Linked DNA regions of Homo sapiens: region 1 is linked to region 2. Evidence: promoter capture Hi-C in 16 types of primary human blood cells and fetal thymus (Javierre and others, 2016). All regions are on one chromosome and are shown on one strand. Each heading gives the region's core, a stretch centred on a gene start or on the middle of the fragment in contact. The rest is flanking DNA. Distances are from core to core; before and after follow the strand shown. Region 1 overlaps LOC124901771 (a long non-coding RNA gene). Region 2 holds the start of ZNF282 (zinc finger protein 282).

Region 1 (4,035 bases), core at 776-3,275, 540 kb after region 2:
ATGTAATTGACTGACTGATTTATTGAGGCTTTAACAGACTTTCTTACTTTGTGCTTTTTGTTTGTCCCACCTCTTCCGAGGGGGCTTCTCTTCCCTGCCTTATTTTGTATTAACACTGTTGTGGGTTAAAAAAAAAATCCATTTTTTCCTCTGCTGGCCTCAAAATGTAAAGAACTAAAAGGAGAAACACCCAAATTCACAATCATATTTGGGAGGTTTTAGCATATCTTTCTCTGAAAATGATGGAACAAATTGGGAGGGATGTAGAAGATTCGAACAAACTCCTTAACAAAATTGGCCTGATTGAGGCCCGTATAGGACAGTACACCATGGGGCCGGGTGCGGTGGCTCACACATGTAATCCCAGCACTTTGGGAGGCCGAGGCGGATGGATCACTTGAGGCCAGGAGTTCCAGACCAGCCTGGCCAACACAGTGAAACTCTGTCTCTACAAAAAATACAAAAATTAGCTGGGCATGGTAGCATGCACCTGTAATCCCAGCTACTTGGGAGGCTGAGACACGAGAATCGCTTGAACCCGGGAGGCAGAGGTTGCAGTGAGCTGAGATCATGCAACTGCACTGCAGCCTGTGTAAAGAGTGAAACTCCATCTCAAACAAGCAAACAAAAACTGTGTGCCATGGGACTGCTTAATATACATTCTCTTCAAGCATACACAGGACATTTACAAAAATTGACCATATATTAAGCCCTACAGTAAGTGTAAATAAATTTAAAATATTGAAATTATATAGGGTATGTTCTCTGACAATACTTTTACCTTTTAAGCTAGAATTAAATAATAACCAGAAATTCTTATATATTCAAAAATGAGAATTATGCTGCTAAAATAACCCATGTGTCAATGAAGAAATCATAATGGAAATTAAAAATGTTTCCCACCATGAAGGAAGTACCACAGGCCAGGTGTGGTGGCTCACGGCTGTTGTCCCAAAACTTTGGGAGGCTGAGGCAGGCAGATCACTTGAGTCCAGGAGTTCGAGACTAGCCCGGGCAACATGGTAAAACCCCATCTCTACTTAAAAAAAAAAAAAAAAAAAATATATATATATATATATATATATATATATATACACATACATACACATACACACAAACACACACACACACACACACACAGACAAAAATTAGCCAGGTGTGGTGGCATGTGCCTTTAGTCACAGCTACACAGGAGGCTGAGGTGGGAGAATCACTTGAGCCTAGGAGGTGGAGGTTGCAGTGAGCCGAGATCGTGCCACTGCACTCCAGCCTGGGTGACAGAGTGAAACCCCGTCTCAAAAAAAAGAAAACAAGGAAGGAAGGAGAGGAGAGGAAAGGAAAGGAACCATATCAAAATGTGTAGCATAAAGCAATATCAGTACTTAGAAATGTATAGACATAAGTGAGTATGTGGAAAAGGAAGGACAGAATTCACAAGGAGAAACAGAACAGCAAAGGAAATCCAAAGAAAAGTTAAAAAGGGCACACAAATATAAGAGCAGAAATTACTGAAATAGCATACATATAAATGATATAATCAACAAAGCCAAAAATCATTTCTTTACAAAGCTAATAACATTGACTACTAGCCTGTGATGAAATCATCAATGAAAAAAGAAAGCACAAATAACCAGTCTCAGAATGAAAAAGGTGACATTACTGCAGATGCCGCAGGCTATAGAAAGACAATAAGATGATATTATAAGCAACTTTTTGCCAAAAGTTTGAAAATTCAATGAAAATAACTCCCATAAGAATGCAACTTAGACTCAAAAACAAAACAAAACAAAACCTGAATAGTCCCATACCATTGAAAAAAAAATGCATTAGTGATCAAACATCTTACAAAAGAAACTGTAGGGCCAGGTACTGTGGCTCAGGCCTGTAATCCCAGCACTTTGGGAGGCCAAGGCAGGCAGATGGCCTGAGGTCAGAAGTTCAAGACCGTCCTGGGCAACATGATGAAACCCTGTCTCTACTAAAAAATACAAAAAATTAGCCAGGTGTGGTGGCGTACGCCTGTAATCCCAGCTACCTGGGAGGCTGAGGCAGGATAACCACTTGAACCCGGGAGGTGGAGGTTGCAGTGAGCCAAGATCACGTCCCTGCACTCCAGCCTGGGCAACAAGAGAAAACTCCATCTAAAAAAGAAAAAAGAAAAGAAACTGTAGGCCCAAAAGGCCTCACTAGTAAGTTCTATCTCACATTTAAAAAGGAAATTATTTCAATAATATACAAACTATTCCAGAGAATGGAAAAATATGGGACACTCTCTGACTCGTTTTACGAGACTGGCATAATCTTGAAATTTCCAAAACTTGAGGACAGTACAAGAGAACAAAATTACAGGCTAATCTCAAAAAATGTACATAGGAAAAATACTCAACAAAATATTAGCCAAAGAGAATCTAGCAATACACAAAATGTTTTACTGAGTAAAACATCATTACCCAGTTGGCTTCATCTTGTCGATCAAGAATGGTTTCAACGTTTGAAAATCACCAGTGGTAACCCACAATAATAGATTAAAGGGGAAAAGTCACATGATCATCTCAATAGCTGCAGAAAGATCACTTGATAAGAGCCAGCACCCATCAATATTCCAAGTGAACTGGGATGAGAAAGGAAATTTCTTAATTTGATGAGGATTATATACCAAAAAAAAGATGATAGCTGTATTAGCCTATTTTCATGGTGCTAATAAAGACAGACCCAAGACTGAGTAATTTATAAAGAAAAGAGGTTTAATGGACTCACAGTTCCACGTGGCTGAGGAGGCCTCACAATCATGGCGGAAGGTGAAGAAGGAACAAAGGCATGTCTTACATGGTGGCAGGCAAGAGACTGTAGGGGAACTGCCCTCTGTAAAACCATCAGATCTCATGAGACTTATTCACTATCATGAGAAAAGCAAGGGAAAAACCCACCCCCATGATTCAGTTACCTCCAACTGAGTCCCTTCCATAATGTGGGGATTATGGGAGCTACAATTCAAGATGAGATTTGGGTGGGGACACAGCCAAACCATATCAATAGCTAATATGCTTAATGGTGACATATTGAAGTGTTAAAAACCAGTATACCAAAACTAAGTTATATTTACATATACCCACAGCCAACAGTTAGAAAGTATTACTTTAAAGATTTTATTTGTAGTAACAAAAAACTCAAGAGCCCAGGAATCAATCTAAAAAAGATTTATGTGGAGAGAACTATTGAGCACTTTTTGTGATTTCCTTGAAGCACAGAAATTAAGAAACTTGCTCAAAGCTACACAGTTGCTAGGTGAGTTTGAGCTGGGATTCTCTGGCTTCAGAGCTAAGGAAGGCCCCAAAACATGCAGGGCGAGAGGCACACTGAACTCTGGACCTTCACATTAGATTCGTCAGTGTCTGAGGCAAATCAGGGAGGAAGAAATAGATTGTTATAAAAATTAGTAATCTGCAGCATCTATTTGTGTGTTACTTTGTTGAATGTCTGCCCCCCACACCCACCAGCCCCCAACTGTAAGCTCTGTGGATGAGGCAAATACATATGGTATATCTGGCATCAACACTGGATCAGCTACATAGTGGGGGTTCAATAAACCTGGATTGAATCTCTGAATAACACTCTTTTTTGGGTTTAAGACAGAGAGTGGGCTGGGCGCGGTGGGTCACACCTGTAATCTCAGCACTTTGGAAGGCTGAGGTGGGTGGATCACTTGAGGCCAGGATCGAGAGCAGCCTGGCCAACATGGTGAAACCCCATCTCTACTAAAAATACAAAAAATTAGCTGGGCATGGTGGTGTGCATCTGTAATCCCAGCTACTTGGGAGATTGAGGCAGGAGAATCGCTTGAACCTAGGAGGTGGAGGTTGCAGCAAGCTGTGATTGTGCCACTGCACTCCAGCCCAGGCGACAGAGTGTGACTCTGTCTCAAAAAAAAAAAAAAGAAAAAAAAGGCAGTGAAGGCGTTGGAATAAATGCATCGAAATTTTCCAAGTGTTTATTATTGGACCCTTGGATTCTAGTAGAAACCATGAGCTGGTACCA
Region 2 (4,087 bases), core at 865-3,364:
GATCTCTTCCTTAACAAGACAGGGACTGGTCCTTTAGGAAAACAAAGTAAATACTATTTTGAGAATAATTACAAAAACACCTTTTGGGGGTAACTATCTTTGCAGAATGCTCGCTATGTGCCAGGCACAATTCTCATTTAATTTTACAACATTAAAATAGAGTTGCCATTATTTTCTTCATTTATATATGAAGAGAATGAGGCTCAGAGAAGTTAAATAAGTTGCTCAAAGTCATAGCTAGTGAGTGGTGATTTTGGGATTTAAACTCAGGTGTATGCAACTGCAAAGCTCACCCTCTTCCTAAACAGTACCTGGCACACAGTAGGTGTTCAATAAATACATTTGGAATGACTGAATTTTCCCCTCCTCCATCTTCATCAGCTTATACTGGCCTCTCCCTGGCTCCTCCTCTGACCTGGCCTGATGTTTCAAAGTGACACTGACCTGCCTTTAAAGGGTTTTATTTGTAGAGAAGGGATCTCGCTGTGTCACCCAGGCTGGTCTTGAACTCCTGGCCTCAGCCTTGGCCTCCAAAGTGTTGGGATTACAGGTGTGAGCCACCATGACTGCCCGATTTAAAGGTTTATTTATTTATTTATTTGACACAGGATCTTTGCTATGCCGCCCAAGCTGGAGCACAACGGCACAATCACAGCTCACTGCAACCTCCAACTCCTGAGTTCAAGCAATCCTACAGCCTTAGCCTCCTGAGTAACTAGGAGTACAGGCATTAGCCATCATGCCCGGGTAATTTTTATTTTTTATTTTATTATTATTATTATTATTTTTTTTTGAGACGGAGTCTTGCTCTGTTGCCCAGGCTAGAGTGCAGTGGCGCGATCTCGGCTCACTGCAAGCTCCGCCTCCCGGGTTCACGCCATTCTCCTGCCTCAGCCTCCCGAGTAGCTGGGACTACAGGCGCCGCCACCACACCCGGCTAATTTTTTTGTATTTTTAGTAGAGACGGGGTTTCACCGTGTTAGCCAGGATGGTCTCGATCTCCTGACCTCGTGATCCGCCCGTCTTGGCCTCCCAAAGTGCTGGGATTACAGGCGTGAGCCACGGCGCCCGGCCTTATTATTATTTTTTGAGATGGAGTCTCGCTCTGTTGCCCAGGCTGGAGCGCACTGGCGCGATCTTGGCTCACTGCAACCTCCGCTTCGGAGGTTGAAGCGATTCTCCTGCCTCAGCCTCCCGAGTAGCTAGGATTATAGGCCCACGCCACCACGCCCGGCTAATCTTTTTGTATTTTTAGTAGAGACGGGGTTTCACCATGTTGGCCAGGCTGGTCTCGAACTCCTGACCTCAGGTGATCCGCCTGCCTCAGCCTCCCAATGTGCTGGGATTACAGATGTGAGCCACCGCGCTCGGCTAATTTTTATTTTTTATAGGGATGGGGTGTCAATATGTTGCTCAGTCTGGTCTCGAACTCCTGGGCTCAAGTCGTTCTCCTGCTTCAGCCTCTCAGAGTGCTGAGATTACAGGTGTGAGGCACCACGCCCAACCCAATTTCAAGGTGTTTGAAGAGGCCACTGTTAAAATGCACTGCACCTTACCTGGGAGAAAGAGCTCAGCCCTCTTTTGACACCTTAACATGAATCACTTCTCTATCATCCATAACAGTGCAAAAGCTCTGGGATGGGTCCAGGTAAATCTGGATTGGGAAGAAGGGGAGTGGGAGGTAAAGTCTGCAAAGGAGTGAGGGAAGGCAGAAGGCCAGAAGAAAGTGTCTGAAGACAGAATTACTCCTGCAAAATTTTCACAAGGGTCAGGCACTATTTTCTCCCGGGATGCCCAATACATTTGCAGAATTAACAGTAATCAAGCCCACAGTCCAGGTCCTCGCATAGTTTGGGCCTTTAAAGTCGGCCATCCCAGATTGAGGGGGCCTGACCCCTGGGCGAGGCCGCCGCCTCTCAGTTTTGGGGCGGTGGCGACCCCAGTCCGGGAGTGGCCCCGGTAGGTCCCCGCAGGCGGGCAGGAGCTCCGAGGCCATTGGCTGGCGCGCGGGCTGCCAAGGGGCGGGGAGCGCCGCCGAAGGGGACTGTTTGCTCCTACGGGCTGTAGATGGAGCTGTCCGGCCCCGGAGAGGGGGAAGGCGCCTGGAAAACGTTCTTCTTCTCCCTGGCCGACCCGAGCGGGGAACAGCACTCCCAGGATGCAGTTTGTGTCAACACGGCCGCAGCCTCAGCAGCTGGGCATCCAGGGCCTGGGGCTGGACAGCGGGAGCTGGAGCTGGGCCCAGGCTCTGCCCCCGGAGGAGGTCTGCCACCAGGAGCCGGCGCTGCGCGGGGAAATGGCCGAGGGAATGCCGCCCATGCAGGTGGGAGAACCCCGCCGGCGCCATGGCCGCGCTGCCGTGGGGGCGGGGCGCGGGCTGGGCCGCGGGACCGGGCCGCGCCGTCCTCCGGTAGCCTTGCGGCGCCCTCCCAGCTTCCGCGCCCAGGCGAGGCCCGAGGCGGGCGGGGCACGGCCGGGCTGCGCGGCGGGCAGGACGGAGCGGGCCCGACGCAGGCCCGGAAGGGCAGGCCTGGCCCGCGCGGCGCGGAGCAGCGGTCGCCGGGCCCAAGTGCGGAGGCCCCGCGGGGCGGGGGCCGGGACCGTCCTTTCCGGGACCTGGCAGAGCTCTGACCCTGTGGCTGAGCCCCGGCTTGGGGCTCCCTTTGCGCCCGGCCGGCGGAGAGCTTCGCGGGCAGTGCTTCCGCCCGGCCGCAGAAGTGAATGCCTCGTTCGTGTTTACACGGTGGCCAATTTGACGGGGATATTTTTTAAATGTTTGATTACCACCTTTCACCAAGTGTAATGAGTAATTCACTCTCCCCCTGCACCGGGTGTGATCCAGGGAGGGGGCCATGGAGAGATGACTTCGGGGTCTTTCCTGCGGTTGACAAACTTGGCCGCATGTTGGAATGGCCTGGGCAGCTTTTAAGACTCCTGAGCCCTTGCCTGGTCCCAGAGCTCAGGGTCTCTGACGGGTGAGAGTAGCACCAGGCATTTCTTCAGGCTCCATCGATGATCTCCGTGGGCAGAACCGGTGCTCCAGAATTGGGTATAAAACCAGGGGAGGTGGATCCTCAGAGAGGCCTGAAAGCTTGCCCAGGGAAGACTCTCTGGGCCCACCCTGGGGCTGGGCTGCTCAGGGGCCCCTCTGCTCACCACGCGGCTCTCAGCCAGGTGCTAACGAGGGAGCCAGGGGCTGCTGTGTTGTGTTTGATCATTTTCAGGGTTAGGGCTTCAAACCCGAGAAAACTAAACTGGGCCCCGGGACTTTCTTAACTTCTACTGTGGACTCTGTCCCCTTCTGTGGGCTAGGGCGGAGTGGAGCCTCTGTGATGGAGGAATGGGTGCTTTTGATGGAAACACCAGCACCTCTTACTGGTATTACAGGGCCTGGCGATCCTAGGGCCCTGCTCTCCACTCTGCTGTGTCCCGGAGCAGGTCTGCCCCGGAGCAGGGCTGCTCTTGAGTCAGAGAGTGGGGCTGGTCTGCCCAGATCGCCCCAAGCAGCAGGCCTCCCCTTTTCCTAGCCTGAGGGCCTTTTCTGCAGCCATCGGGAGGACAGAAAATGACACCTCTTCCTGTCCCAGGTGTGAAGGAGAGTCGGCTGCCAGCCCATGTGGTCCAGTGAGCCCTGAGTCTGACACCAGGTCCCAGATGACCAGTGAACTGTCACCAGCCTCAACCAGCCCCCCTTAGCCATAGGTCTCAGCTCTCAATTGCACCAATTAGTTTACCCTTCTGGGGTGAGGGCTCTGTGCTGGAAGATAAAAGGGGGAGTCCCCAGGCCATGGGGCACCCCTTCCCCAGGAAGCAAGGAGGGGTCCCAGAGGAGTTTTTCTTTCTCTTGGTCCTCTTGGGTGTGAGGGACATCCCCTCTTCACCTCTAATGAGTGACCTTTTTTAGTGAACCTATTTTCAATTTGGAAAATGTTTATGAAACAGTAGTTGTATATGGGGGGAAGCTGCTTTTCTGCCCTAGCTTGGGCTCTCCGGTCTTTTCCTTGACTGCAGCCCTGGTAGGAATGTGGTGGGTTTTTTTGTTGTTTATTTGTTTGTTCCGAGACGGAGTCTTGCTCTGTTGCCCAGG

What was found. The method cuts DNA at HindIII sites, captures the fragments that hold promoters and counts their contacts. A CHiCAGO score of 5 or more calls a contact.
Region 1: a contact is called between a fragment that was not itself captured here and the fragment with the promoter of ZNF282 in region 2, in 1 of 17 cell types (neutrophils). The highest score is 5.7, in neutrophils.

What each region holds. Positions count from the first base shown.
Region 1 is chr7:149,737,151-149,741,185 of GRCh38, forward strand. It overlaps LOC124901771 (a long non-coding RNA gene), which reads right to left. Exons shown (of 2, transcript XR_007060585.1): 2 at 2,724-2,862. Among named protein-coding and RNA genes, the nearest start is that of KRABD3, 24 kb to the left of the region's middle. The HindIII fragment of the contact is 9,706 bases long and covers 1-4,035 here.
Region 2 is chr7:149,193,432-149,197,518 of GRCh38, forward strand. ZNF282 (zinc finger protein 282) reads left to right here and starts at 2,115. Exons shown (of 8, transcript NM_003575.4): 1 at 2,115-2,323. The coding sequence starts at 2,159. RefSeq lists silencers at 1,783-2,072, 1,891-2,212, 2,333-2,692 and an enhancer at 3,133-3,182. The HindIII fragment of the contact is 5,667 bases long and covers 1-3,089 here.